Regions from separate parts of the Homo sapiens genome. Here all the other regions are linked to region 4. Evidence: promoter capture Hi-C in 16 types of primary human blood cells and fetal thymus (Javierre and others, 2016). All regions are on one chromosome and are shown on one strand. The core of a region is centred on a gene start or on the middle of the fragment in contact, and the rest is flanking DNA. Distances in the headings are between cores, read along the strand shown.

Region 1 (2,700 bases), core at 179-2,678, about 36 Mb after region 4:
TTATTCTGAAGATTAGAAATAATATATGTAAAGTGCCTAACACACAGCGGCCATTCAACAAATGACAGATGTTTCAGAAGTTGTGTTTACTCGCCTCTTTTGAGCAGACAAAGTTGTAAATGGCACTGTAGGCAGCATCTGTTAACTAATGATTAAGATACACACCAAATCACTAAGGTCACTGGCATGGAGAAGGCCACAATGAATCCCATCAGAATATTATCACTTATAGACTGCCACTGTTGAGAAGAGATGTGGTTCCTAACGTGGTACACTCTACCACTAGTGAAACATATTTCTAATCTGTTTCTTTCTGCATTTTTATCCTGACGCCTAGAATTTCACATATTCAGACAGTAGTTATTTCCTAGTAGAGGTTCCCATGGTCCTCAGTCCCGCCTCAGTCCTAGTTTGGGATGTTCGGCATATCCTTTATGAAATGGCAAGGTCCAATGAGCAACTGGCAAGTATTAAGATCATATTGAAAGACATATTGGAGCTAACCCTGGATGAATAACTACTATTATCAGCTTAATGGTTGACTTGCAGAACTGGAGGCAATTATAATCATTAGAATCTTACTTATTTAAAAATATTGTTGAAGCTGGCCAGGAGTTAAGTTACATTTACATTTACTCTATGGCTCCCAAAGCTAACTTTCTCTAAAAACCCTTTGATGAGCTAATCCAGTGATTAATATCTACAGGCATACCTTGTTTTATTGTACTTCACTTTATTTTGGCTTTTACAAATGGTAAGTTTGAGGCAACTCTGTGTCAAGCAAGTCTATCAGTACCATTTTTCCAACAGCATGGGCTCACTTTGTGTCACATTTTGGTAATTCTAACAATATTTCAAATTTTATTATCTTATTATTATTTTATTATTGTATTTTATTATTATAGTGATCTGTGATAAGTGATCTCTGATGTTACTATTTTACTCGATAATTTACTCGATAAATCTTGTGTGTTCTCACTGCTCCACCAACCAGCCATTCCTCAGTCTCTCTCCCTCTCCTCGGGTTTCCCTATTCCCTGAGATACAACAATATTGAAATCAGGCCAACTAATAATCCTACATTGGCCTCTGAGTGTTCAAGTGAAAAAAAGAGTCAGATATCTCACTTTAAATCAAGTGCTAGAGATGATAAAGCTTAATGAGGAAGGCACGTTCAAAGATGAGTTAGGCTGAAAGCTAGGCCTCTCGTACCAAACAGCCAAGTTGCAAATGCAAAGAAAAATTCTTAAAGGAAATTAAAAGTGTTACACTAGTGAACACACAAATCATAAGAAAGCAAAACAGACTGCTCTCTGATATGAAGAAAGTTTGAGTGGTCTAAATAGAAGATGAAACCAGCTACAACACTCCCCTAAGCCAAAGCCTAACCCAGAGAAAGACCCCAACTCTCTTCAATTCCATGCAGGCTGGGATGTGAGAAAGCTGCAAAAGAAAGTTTGATACTAGCAGATGTCAGTTCTTTAGGTTTAACAAAAGACACCTCTATAACATAAAAGTGCAAGGTGAAGCAGCAAATGCTGATGTAGAAGCACAAATTATCCAGAAGATCTAGCTAACTGATGAAGGTGGCTACCCCAAACAACAGATATTCCATGTAGATTAAACAGCCTTATATCAGAAGAAGATGCCATTTAGGACTTGCACAGCTAGAGAGAAGTCAATCCCTGACTTCCAAGCTTCAAAGGACAGGCTGACTCTTCTTAGGAGCTAATGCAGCTGGTGACTTTATATTAAAGCCAATGCTCATTTACCATTCTGGCGCCCTTGAGAATTATGCTAAATCTACCCTGGCTGTGCTCTATAAATGAAACAAAAAAGCCTGGATGACAGTACATCAGTTTACAGCACGGCCTACTGAATATGTGAAGCCCACTGTTGAGAACTGCTCAGAAAAAAAAAAGATTCCTTTCATTTTAATGAGTATTTTCTTCAATGACAATGTACCTGGTCAACCAAGAGCTGTGATGGAGATGTCCAAGTAGATCAATGTTGTTTTCATGACTGCTAACACAACATCCATTCTGCAGACCATGGATCAAAGAGTAATTTTGACTTTCTAGTCTTATTATTTAAGAAATACACTGTGTAAGAAGGCTAAAACTGCCAGAGATAGTGATTCCTCTGATGGACCTGGGCAAAGGAAATTGAAAACCTTCTGGAAAGGAGTCACCATTCCAGATGCCCTTAAGAACAATCGTGACTCATGAGAAGAGGTCCAAATATCAACTTTCATAGGAGTTGGAAAGCAATTGACTCCATTCCTCATGGATGACTTTGAGGGGATCAACACTTTAGTGGAGGAAGTAACCATAGGTGTGGTCGAAATAGCAAGAGAACTAGAATTAGAAGTGGAGCCTGAAGATGTGACTGAATTGTTGCAATCTCATGATAAAGTTTGAATGGATGAGGAGTTGCTTCTTATGGATGAGCAAAGAAAGTGGTTTCTTGAGATGCAATCTACTCCTGGTGAAGATCATGTGAACACCGTGGAAATGACAACAAAGGATTTAGACTATTAGATAAACTCGGTTGATAAAGCCGCAGCAGGGTTTGAAAGGACTGACTCCAATTTTGAAAGTTCTACTGTGGATAAAATGCTACCCAACAGCATCCCATGCTACAGAGAAATCTTTCATGAAAGGAAGAGTCTATTGCTCTTCCTTAGTGGCAAACTTCATT
Region 2 (2,700 bases), core at 40-2,539, about 26 Mb after region 4:
CGCCCCCATGGCCGCCCCCGCCACTGCCACCGACCTTGTCTCCCTTCTCCCCCGGCTTGGAGGAGGCGGCGGCCGAGGAGCTGGAGTTGGCGTTGCCGGACTTCACCTTCTTCCTGGGCCGGTACTTGTAGTCGGGGTAGTCAGCCATGTGCTTGAGGCGCAGCCGCTCCGCCTCTCGAATGAAAGGGATCTTGTCGCTGTCTTTGAGCAGCTTCCAGCGTTTGCCCAGCCGCTTGGAGATCTCGGCGTTGTGCATGTCGGGCGACTGCTCCATGATCTTGCGCCGCTCGATCTGCGACCACACCATGAAGGCGTTCATGGGTCGCTTGATGTGCCCACTCGGGGTCTTGCACCAGCTCGGGTCGTCGGCCTTGCCGCCCGTGGAGGCGGTGGAGCCGGGCGTGGGGGAGGAGGCGATTCCCAGCTCGAGGCCGGCGCCCGAGTCCGAGCTCTCGCCGGCCAGCAGCGCTTCCGTGTTCTCGGCATTGTTGGTTTGCTGCACCATGGCCTCGGCTCGGCGGGCGCCCACGCGCGCTCACACCCTCGCGGCGGCCGCCGCGCGATCGCCGGGCCCTCCCGGTTCCCCGGGCCAAGCACACGCCGAACGGGAAGACGCGCGCGGCGGCCGAACTGGCCCCTCAACTCCTCGCAGGGGCGGAGGTGGGTAAAGAGAGAAAAGTCCCCAAAAGATTTGGGGAAGGAGTTCTCCGCCTCTCGCAGAGGAGTTATAGTTCCCAGGCTGGAGAGTCTCTCTCTCCCTCTCTCTCGCTCTCTCACCGCGCTGCAGTTTGCTGTCTCTCGGCTGAGTCTGGAGACCGTGCTAAAGTAGAGAGGAGTTTCTCGAATGCTGGTTGCTGAAGCTTCCAATGCAAGTTTCTCGCGGCCTCCCAGGCAAGTCTTTTTTTTTTTTTTTTCTTTTTCCCTGAAGCAGTTGATTCCAGTTCACGAGCGCTCTCGGTAGCTCAGGAAAGCGACATAGTCTCTAGCACTTAGTCCCTCTCCTACAATGCAAAGCAAAAAAGACTGTGGCTCCAGGACTCTCTGTGGGCGGAATCGGCACTAAGGAGTTGGTGCAATTATTTTGTTGCAAGGTAGGAAGCCAAAAAGCCTGCATGCAACAGACTGGCATGAATAAATGTATGTTTCCCCCTCCCTTCTGCAAGAAGGGAGCTGGTAATGGCAGGAGTTCCTCCAGTGCAGACTCTTAAAGAGCGTGCAAGAACTAGAGACCCGACAGCGAAACAGGCCTCTTCCCCTCACACACAGTTTCTCTTGCTGCAGCTTAGAGCAGACCCCAATTCCGCCTCGCGCCTCTTTATCCTTTCACAGTCTTGGCTGCAGCCAATCAGCTGCTGTAACCAACGCTTCCTCATGCCAAACCCCTCCCCCGGGCTTCCCATTGGCTTGGAACCCGATGCAATAATAATCTCCGCGTGCAATGAGAAGCTCCAAATCTGACCTCATTCCAATTTACAGAGCAAACTTTTTAAAAGGGCTAGAAGTACAGCTGAGATTTCTGCTGCCTCTTTTTTCCTTTTGCTGTGTGTGTGCGCGCGCGTGTGTGTGCGCGCGTGCGTGTGTGTATAGTGTGTGAAGAGGATGTTAATGCATGAAATTATTAAGGGGAGAGACGGAAATGTATTCTAACCATTATGTTAGATAACAAGGGGCTTGGAACGGGGCGGGGTAAGGGTGAAATACTGTAAATGGAAGCTTTCTGCTTAAAAGCCAAGTGATTATTTTTATTAGTTCTTTTCAGCATTGGAATAAAGAATCAGCCTCTGGTGCAAAATCTGTTCCCCAGCTCTTTCTTAAAGCCAAAGCTGTAAAGGGGAAGAGAAAGCCACAAAACAATAAATCAATGGATATTGAAAACCATTAAGAAAGTGGTACCTAGACACCTGTCATCACAATTATTTTAACAACTCTAGGTACAGCACAGATGTTGATGTATTGTGTAAATCCCTTCAGAACCGTTTTTGTGCTGTTTGTGGAAGGCAGGGAAGAGGACTTTGCAATAATTGCTTACTCTCTTAACCAAGCAAGGGTCAACTATGGTTATTTAATGATTTAAACTCCCTGTAAATCCTGCATAGCCCAAACAGGGGAGCTTTCCCTTGAAACACATTAGGTAGTGCTCCGTAATTACCTCAATAGGCAGATTTCCAGAGTTTTGTATAGGATGTATAATGGCATGTAAAGGATGGAAATCGGTTTTACTTTCTAAATATTTGTTTTCCCTGTTTTCAAAATTAAAGATTGCTTCACTCTCTTCCCTCTCCTCCTCCCAAAGCCATCTTCCTCCTTTCCTTCTTATATATTTCCTCTTGTTACTTGAATCGAAGGGAACTGAAAAACCAAGGCAAAGAGAAACTGTAGAAGGAGGTGATAACTGGTAGCAGAAGAGAATGGGGCCTCCGGATTCATAGTAGACCTGGCTGCTAATCCTTCTTAATGGTTTGTAACTATGGGGATGTGGCCAAGTCTCAGTTTTCCTCATCTATTATATGGGAACACTAGGAGCTACTTTATAGAGGGTTGTTGTGAGGGTTCAATGAATTTGTGACTATGAAGCACCTGATGTATTGTAAGCCCTCAATGAATACTAATATCTTCCTTTCTAATTCAAATGCCAGACACACTCCTAGTAAAAGCTGCATGTTGTTCAAGAGGCTAAAACAGAATAGCCACTTATGTAAA
Region 3 (2,700 bases), core at 144-2,643, about 40 Mb after region 4:
AGCTTCAAATACCCCTCTAAATGAATATTAAAGATTTTTTAATTTCCTCTGTGCTTTTAATACAATAAACAATGAATGGTATATACAGAAATCAAATATATTTTAAATGCCTCTGAGGAATCAGTCATGTAACTTAAACCCAGGAGAAATTATCACAGCATGGTAAACCCAGAAGTAATAGTAAAGATAATGAATTACCCCACATTGGAGCACTTCCCTTCCTCTCATTCCACCGAAAATACCCCACAAAAAAACAAAAATCACGAATGTTCACTCTAAATACACTTGCCTACATTTTTAAAAAAGCAATTCTAATGTCCACAGGAGTTGCCAGTTACCACCTCTTGGTGACAACCTTTAATAATCCTAGAATTGGTGCTGTCCCAGTCAGAAGTGTCCAATTTTAAGGCACAGAAAGGCGAACTGGCAAACTCCCAGCTCTCCTGACACCGAATCTGGTGCAACTGCGGAATCCGTATGACAGATGACAATGCAAACCGCCAATCCCTCTGCAGCGCTCTGAGACACGTTCACTTATTTTCTAAATAAATACCAAATCTGCCATTCCCTCCTCACTCAACACACCTTCCTGGATTTTGTTTGTTTGTTTTTTGAGACAGGGTCTTGCTCTGTCGCCCAGGCTGGAATGCAGTGGAGCGATCTCGGCTCACTGCAGCCTCGACCTCCTGGGCTCAAGCTATCCTTCCACCCCAGCCTCCCAAATAGCTGGGGCCACAGGCTCACACCACCACACCCGGCTAATTTTTGTACTTTTGGTAGAGAAGAGGTTTCACCATGTTGCCCAGGCTAGTCTGGAACTCCTGGGCTCAAGGGATCCTCCCGCCTTGGCCTCTCAAAGTGCTAGGATTACAGGCGTGCGCCACCGCGCCCGGCCCCCGGTTTTCTTTAAACTCGAAGTTGCGCGGGAGGAGCGCCGCACTGGAGGTCGATGTGGAGCCTTCGGGAGTTCCTCGCGCGCCCCAGCCCGGAACCCAGGGACGTCAGGGTTGCTCCAGGGCCCCCGGCGCCCCTCGGGTCCCAGGCGCCCATCGCGGCTCTGCACACGGACGAGGACTCCTCGCCCTTCCCTCCGCGGCTGCCAGTGCGGATCTCCCTTCTTCCAGAGAAGACCCCGGGCCGATAGTCCCCGAAAGGGCCCCGCGGCCGCGCTCCTCACCTCCGCCGCCTCCTCTTCCCCGGGATCCAGACTATCTAGGTCCCAGCCCAGGGACGCGGTCACCTCCTCCAACGTCCGGCAGCCGCTCTCCACGAACTCGTTCAGCTCCTCCTGCAGCCGCCGCCGCTCCTCCACAGGTGGAGGCTCGCCCTCCATAGCTGCAGCCCACCCGCCAAGAGGAAGCGGCCGAACTGCAGACCGCACGCGCAGGCCTCTGGGAGCTGTGGGCGGGGCCACAGTCGCCACGTGACTTGAACAGCCTATAGGGAAGAGTCCCGGGAAGGGCGGGACTGTTATTTTGAGAGGCGTTTTCCAATCTTTTCTCAGCTCTTGCGTGCATTTGCTCTGGCCTTTCCAGAAAGATATTCGCCCTCCTCGACTTCCTCAGAAAAAACGGCTTATAGCTACAGAAAAGTTTTAAAAATAGTACAATGAGCTTTCGTTTAGCCGTCCTTCAGCTCATTGTTAACATTTTGCCAGGTTTGATTTCTCTCCGTCTCTTCTCTCCACATTCACAGCCCCACCCAATGATTTTTGCTGAATTCTTTGAAAGTAAGTTGCAGATTTTTCACCCCCAAATATGTTAGCATGCATGTTCTAAGAATAAGAACATTTTCCTGTGTAACCGCAATACATGATCAAACCTAAGAAAATTAGTAAGTCCATAAAATCATTTATTATACAGTTCATATTCAAATTTCCCCATTGTCCCCAAAATTATTTCTATAGCAGTTTTATTTTTTCAACTCATAAGCTATAATTAGTTATTGTCTCTTTTAATCCAGATCAGCCTCCTTCACCCTCCTTTTTAAATTATTAAATCATTACATGTTGTGATGAGCCTAGGCCAGTTGTCTTGTAGAATCTCTCTCATTCTGGATTTGTCAGATTTTGTTTCCCTCATGATTAGATTCAGTTTGAGCACTTTTGCAATACTACCTAAGAGATGTTGCCAACTCACGGGGACGCATAACTCAGTTATATTAGTAATGCTAAATTTGATCACTTGGTAAAGGTGGTGGCTACATCTCTTCATTCTAATAGTACATTTTCCTCTTAGGAATTGGTAAGCAATCTGTGGATTATACCTTGAGTCCATAAGAATAACCTGTTCCCCAACTCCTTGATACAGTCCTTCACTGAATCTGTTGTTACATTAGGAGTTATAAGTGATTCCGCAATAGTATCATGCCTTTTATGTTTATTAACTGGCATTCTTTCCACACCTCCATTTTAGTGTTTGCTTCACTATGGGAATCAAGGTGTTTTTAAAGTTATTGATTTAAGGTTTTTTTTTAATTCAATATAATATACTCCTTTAACATCATAATTCTTGTTGATGCTCAAATTGTCCCAAATGTGGCCAGTGGAAGCCACATTAAGCCATCTGTGTCTTTCATGTATCCCTATTAGTCCTTGAATGCTTTCTTGCTTTGATAACACAAGCTTAACTTTGTACATTTCCTACCCAACACCTGGAATTAGCCCTTGTAGTTTCCCCAAATGGTTTCAACTCCTAGAAT
Region 4 (2,700 bases), core at 8-2,507:
TTGTTACACCACTTAACAAAACTCCTTTTCAACCCGGACTGCCACACATTCTGCCTTCTCTAACTTCAAACAAAACTATAAAGCACATAGTAAATAACATATAAGGCCTTGTATTTTTCTCTCCTCCGGCAAGGAAGTCTAACTCCAAACAGGAAACTGCTCCTCAAAGGATCCAACACTGAAGTCCAAACCCAGTCCTCGGGAGCACACTGAATGCTTAGGTGCCAACACACTTGCCTAGGTAGAACCCGAGTAAAACAAATACTCAAGCTTTCCTGTCCTTGAGGCACCCCTTGCGAGTTTCAGCAGGAAAAAAAAAAAGTTTTTGAACAAATTTATCTCTCTCCTTAAACGTATTCAAAGCCTCGCAGAAAATAAAGAAGTTGAAAGTGCTACTTTATCAAGTTTTTCGATCGCCCTCCCCCATCCCACGAGGAGGGGGAGGGAAGCAAGGGGATGAGGAAGGGAAGGAAGGTCAGGTCTGATTTTAGCTGGGCAAGGGGTTAGCAGAGGTGGCCAGGCGCCCCCGCCCCCCATCCCGCACCTTTCTGGTGAACAGGAAAAGAGGCGGAGAAGGGAGAGCGAGGGAAAGCACCCGCGAGCTCTCCCACCAGTTTCTCCGTGAGAAGAGCAAGGTGGAAGGCAGGGCAAGAAGGGGCGGTGGGGAGAATGGAGAGGGTGGGGTGCTGCCGCTCAGGGGCTGACCGCAGTCGCCTCCCCAGAAGGCCGAGAAAGGGCACAGCCTCCCCGGGTCTGGAAGGTCCGGACGGGCGGCGGGAAGCGCCCGAGTCTCTTACCCATGCTGGGGGCTCCCGCGGGGAGAAGCCGACGTCCGCTCCTCCTCCTCCTCCTCCAGTGGTGGCTCGCGCGGCCGCTCCCGCGGCTGGAGGCGGGACCCGCGCTCCGCGCTAGCCCCTCCTGAGCTCAGGCGGGGCGAAGAGTCGCCTCCATCCGCCCGCGGCGCTCTCCTACCAGTCTCTTCAGCGCGGCCCTCGAGGCAGAGGCAAAGGCGGCGACAGCTCCTCACCCCTGGCCTCCCCAGGAGCCACGGCGGCGGGAGGGCCCTACCCCGCCCGCCCGACCGCGGTTTTCCCACCCTGGCCGCTCCCGCAGTGGGGAGGGACCCACCGGTTTGCCCAGACCCTCGGCTCCAACCCCGAGCGCCCGCCTAGCCTCGGAGCCCGCCCCTCGCCTCTTCCTTAGCACTCGCAGTTAGAAAAGGCGACACCGTAGACTAAGGTGGGGACCCAGACAGAGGCCGAGAAGGTGCGGGGAGCTGGGACCGGGAGGAGGCAAATCTCGCGAGAACGCCCTCGTTCTCCCCGCCCCACCCCGCCCCGTCGCGTTCGGGCTCTCTCCCGGTCCCCACGGCTGCTGCCAGGTGCGGTGACGTCACGGCCGGGGGTCGCGCGCCGACCGCGTCCAGGTGCAGCGAGCGGATGAGGAAGCGGTGCAGAGGAGCTTGGGCTCGCTCTCCCCCCGGAGGCTCGGAACAGCTTGGGCGGGCGTTTGGTCTGGTTTGTCGCCTCAGATGGATCAAAAGGTTTCTGCTGATAGGCAAAGTTGCCCCACTTTCCGCGGCGGCGACGCGGAGTTACTTTCTGCAGCGAAGCAGCCTCGAGGACCTTAAAGGGAAAAGGCGGACAGAAGGAGGGCGAGCGCACTTGATTTCGACCTTTAAGGGAGGCCCAGATGCTGCCAGGCCCCTCAGTTTACCTTGCGAAGTTACTTACGGATCAGCAGCATTTGGTCTTCGTCGGGTGAGGGAGAAACCTAGGCATCAAATAAATTCTGTTTCACAGATTCCTTTAGTCTCTTGTCAGCTGAATGCAACTTTATAATTTGCTTTTTTTCTTTTTAAAGTATAATTTGAGTTGTTACTTGATCGAGAGAAAAATAGGCATCATGATTTGAAATACTGCCAGGCATTTTTTCTAGCGTCAATGTGAAGGAGGGCATAGGATTACTATAGTCAGTCAAACATGAGCTTGGTAGTTACGAAGAAGTATAATTATTTCAGCAAGCTTTTTTTCCCCCTTCTGTTTAAGTAGACCCAATTCCAGGGCAGATGTGTGTGTGAGCGTTTGTTGAACGCCAACTATTGTGCCTAGTGCTTTTTCAAGAAATTTTGTAATTCTCAGTCATCCAGCACTGAAACTGACTTGCCCTTTGGATCCAGGCAGACATGGGTCCTTGAAACTCAGCACAGCCATTTACTTTTTGTGGGACCTTGGATAAATTAACCTGTCTGAACTTCAATTTCTTGAGTATGTTCAAACAAATCTTGCAATGCAGAGCACAGTGGCCCATAGTAGTAACCTTGGACGTATCCATTACCACTATTTCCTATAGGCCTGCTTTTGCCATCTTTTAATTCTTCTAATGCTTCTCAAAAGGTTACATGTGGTAATTTTATAACAAGAATGATCAAACTCACAAACAGCAGCCAAAAAGGATAAAAGAAAAAAGTTGAATATACTCACCTAAACAAGATTACATTGACATCATGGAACATGTGCCTTTTTTAGGTAACAAATATGTGTTCAGCATTATGTTCGTTGTCCCCTACCAAGCAAAAAAATAAAAAGCTAAAGTACAGCGCTAATCCTCAGAGATTTTGCATTCTTCTAGGGGGGTGAGATACGAACACAAAGTTAATTAACAGTATGAGGTAGTGAGGGTCAAATGCTTGAGAATTTA
Region 5 (2,700 bases), core at 201-2,700, about 37 Mb after region 4:
CATCTGCAAAACGAGAATAACTGCATCCTCCTCAGAGGGTTGCTGTGAGGACTACTGTGTGTCTGGAACACAGTTAAGTAATTTCACTACAAAAAAAAAAAATTAAATAGCATCATCTTTGACTATTCAAAACACATCACTTTTCAGCCAAAGACAAAGAGCAAATAACTGGAGTAGGAAACAAAATAAACGAAAGCAATAGGCCAAGTGATATACTTCCAAATTTTCTGGATAATTAAAGACCGACGCCTTGACTTCATAAAGAAGTACTGTACTCAATTTTCTAGAAAATGCTTAGAATTGCTTCAAGAATAAAAGTGAGCTAGATGTTAGGAGGTCGGATTCCTAGTCGTGAGTATAGTCCTATCTACCTATTTGACTACTGATAATTTATTTGACCTTTTTATCTATTCACACATCTAGTAATATCATATTCTGCTGTAATTTCTCTCCATCTATGCGTCTCCTCAGTCCTCCACCCCTTATGTAGGCAACGTCTCTAAGGCAAGATCCATACCTCCAGCATCTTTGCATCTCCACCGCCCAGCTCGCCATAAGTTCCCAACAAATAATGAATTGGTATCGCTTTACCTATAAGGGATTTATCCTAATCTAGTTCTAGTAATTTGTAAAATTCCAGGGCAGAAATTCAGCAAAAGAGCGAGATCTTCTTTCATTAAATTCTGAATACTGTCAACTTATGGGATCGATCCTTAAATCCACAATCTACGACTCATTTGTCCGTATGCAGAAATGCCGGTTTCCTTTGTGTCCCGTGGACCTTTTGTCTACTAGAAAAGGCAGATATTGCCTCATTTTGATAAAATGTCCATTCTACGGTTTAAAAGGTTAGCTTTTCTCTTAAGTCTCTTAGGTTTGATTCATCAAATCATCCAGTGAACAGCAGGCGCTCCAATGTTCACCTCTGCTGTGTAGGAACCAAACCCGACCTTCCCGGCCCCGCCTCCGACTGTCTCTAACTACGCGGTATCTCACCTCGTGGTCGCCGCAAGCCTCGGGCTCCGGGTGTACAGCGAACCCAAAGAGGACCTGCTCGTAGCAACCAGCGACCAGCTCCATTCAGCAGCGCACGTGCCTCTTCCGCCAGCCCGGCTCAGCCTGGAGGTGACAGAACCGGAAACCAAAAAAAAAAAAAAAAAAACACCTGACTCCTTTCTGCATCGGCGCTCGAATTATACGTCAGGCTCCAGGGCTGCCTTTAAGTCGCCTGTAACGTGGAAACACTTTAAGCGCGGGGAGGTCACATGGATTTTCCAAGAAGAGAATAAGTAAAGATGCCACATGAGGAGGTTCTCACTGCAAGGAGAAAAAAATCGGGGGCAAGCAGGCATATCTCAGGAAGGTGCCAGCTACGCCCGTCTGAAGGGAGCGGGCGGGACATCCTCTGCGAAGCCCTTCATTTCCGTGACATCAGGAGGAGGTGGGGCCGACTTCCGGCCGGTTGCTTAGGGGCTGTAGCGCCGGCAGCGTGCATTGTTGTGGGCTGTGTACTAGTAGGGTAGGAGTTTTTGTTCAGGGACCAGCGGAACGAGGCTTTCTGTCGTTAATAGGGTAAGGAGGGGTGGGATTAGGGTTCGCGGTGACTTGTTCCAGCGGCGCAGCGCTCGCGCTGCCTTGACGGACTCGGAGTGCTAGATGTGTCCGCGTTCCCGTCTGCCCGGGCCAGAACCCCAGCCCTGCACACTTTCTCTGTCTGCTTGTCTAACTCTGGGGCTGTATTGGCCAAGGTTGCGGCACCTCCTGGGGAGGGAGCAGTGAGCCTTCATTTTTTTTTTTTTTTTTTTGAGACGGAGTTTCGCTCTTTTTGCCCAGGCTGGAGTCCGGTGGCGCGATTTCGGCTCACCGCAACCTCTGCCTCCCGGGTTCAAGCAATTCTCCTGCCTCAGCCTCCCGAGTAGCTGGGATTACAGGCATACGCCACCACGCCTGGCTAATTTTGTATTTTTTAGTAGAGACAGGGTTTCTCCATGTTGGCTAGGCTGGTTTTGAACTCCCGACCGCAGGTGATCCGCTTGCCTCGACCTCCCAAAGTTGCTGGGATTGCAGGCGTGAGCCACAGCGCCCGGCCAGAGCCTTCATTTGAGAGTTGGGAAAACAAAGTGAGCCTGAGCAACATATTTTGATGCCGTCTCTACAAAAATGTTATAAATTAGCCCAGCATGGCGACGCCCGCCTGTGGCCTCAGCAACTCGGAAGGCTGAGGTGGGAGGATTGCTTGAGCCCAGGAGGTCGAGGCTGCAGTGAGCCGAGATCGCTCCACTGCATTCCAGTCTGGGGGACGAGCCAGGCCCCCTTTCAAAGAAAAAAAAAGTTTTATTTAATAAGGTTTAGAGATTCAGGTATGTCTTAGACATTACAGCTTTCCTACAAGCTCCCAACAGAGTAAATCTTGGTTCGTATAGTTCTCATAAACACCGTAGTAGGTCATTTGGTAAACAAGATGCATAGTCCATCCTTCTCAAATCTTCAGCCTCCATTTCAAGTGCGATACAGTGCTTCAGCGCTTAGACCCTTTTGTTTCCAATAACTTTTCTTCTCTGGTGTTCTGAATTGTTAGTACGTGTTAATAGAGGCTAGTTTGGGTCTTGCAGAAATGATTTCATTTGGGATGCTTTGGTTGTCACTGCAGTGCAGAAAAGACCTTGTTATTGTTAGAAATAGATAATTGGTGACACGAAG

Evidence for each region. The method cuts DNA at HindIII sites, captures the fragments that hold promoters and counts their contacts. A CHiCAGO score of 5 or more calls a contact.
Region 1: a fragment that was not itself captured here is called in contact with the fragment with the promoter of CD2AP in region 4 in 1 of 17 cell types (non-activated CD4 T cells); the score reaches 7.7 in non-activated CD4 T cells.
Region 2: a contact is called between the fragment with the promoter of SOX4 here and the fragment with the promoter of CD2AP in region 4, in 5 of 17 cell types (activated CD4 T cells, total CD8 T cells, total B cells and 2 more). The highest score is 15.0, in activated CD4 T cells.
Region 3: the fragment with the promoter of SNRNP48 here is called in contact with the fragment with the promoter of CD2AP in region 4 in 2 of 17 cell types (non-activated CD4 T cells and total CD4 T cells); the score reaches 14.7 in non-activated CD4 T cells.
Region 5: a contact is called between the fragment with the promoter of C6orf52 here and the fragment with the promoter of CD2AP in region 4, in 1 of 17 cell types (total CD4 T cells). The highest score is 10.2, in total CD4 T cells.

What each region holds. Positions count from the first base shown.
Region 1 is chr6:11,540,197-11,542,896 of GRCh38, reverse strand. The region is part of intron 1 of TMEM170B (transmembrane protein 170B); the gene reads right to left. Among named protein-coding and RNA genes, the nearest start is that of TMEM170B, 3.8 kb to the right of the region's middle. The HindIII fragment of the contact is 542 bases long and covers 1,158-1,699 here.
Region 2 is chr6:21,592,340-21,595,039 of GRCh38, reverse strand. It overlaps SOX4 (SRY-box transcription factor 4), which reads right to left and starts at 1,289. Exons shown (of 1, transcript NM_003107.3): 1 at 1-1,289. The coding sequence starts at 505. RefSeq lists a silencer at 499-678. The HindIII fragment of the contact is 853 bases long and covers 863-1,715 here.
Region 3 is chr6:7,588,891-7,591,590 of GRCh38, reverse strand. It overlaps SNRNP48 (small nuclear ribonucleoprotein U11/U12 subunit 48), which reads right to left and starts at 1,393. Exons shown (of 9, transcript NM_152551.4): 1 at 1,178-1,393. The coding sequence starts at 1,333. RefSeq lists enhancers at 1,169-1,318, 897-1,636. The HindIII fragment of the contact is 5,411 bases long and covers 1-2,625 here.
Region 4 is chr6:47,476,346-47,479,045 of GRCh38, reverse strand. It overlaps CD2AP (CD2 associated protein), which reads right to left and starts at 1,257. Exons shown (of 18, transcript NM_012120.3): 1 at 798-1,257. The coding sequence starts at 801. CD2AP-DT (CD2AP divergent transcript) reads left to right here and starts at 974. Exons shown (of 1, transcript NR_187257.1): 1 at 974-1,803. RefSeq lists an enhancer at 1-699 and a silencer at 986-1,495. The HindIII fragment of the contact is 1,754 bases long and covers 273-2,026 here.
Region 5 is chr6:10,693,366-10,696,065 of GRCh38, reverse strand. C6orf52 (chromosome 6 open reading frame 52) reads left to right here and starts at 1,450. Exons shown (of 5, transcript NM_001145020.3): 1 at 1,450-1,572. It overlaps PAK1IP1 (PAK1 interacting protein 1), which reads right to left and starts at 1,094. Exons shown (of 10, transcript NM_017906.3): 1 at 997-1,094. The coding sequence starts at 1,080. RefSeq lists enhancers at 1,067-1,446, 876-1,478, 1,487-1,536. The HindIII fragment of the contact is 16,030 bases long and covers 1-2,700 here.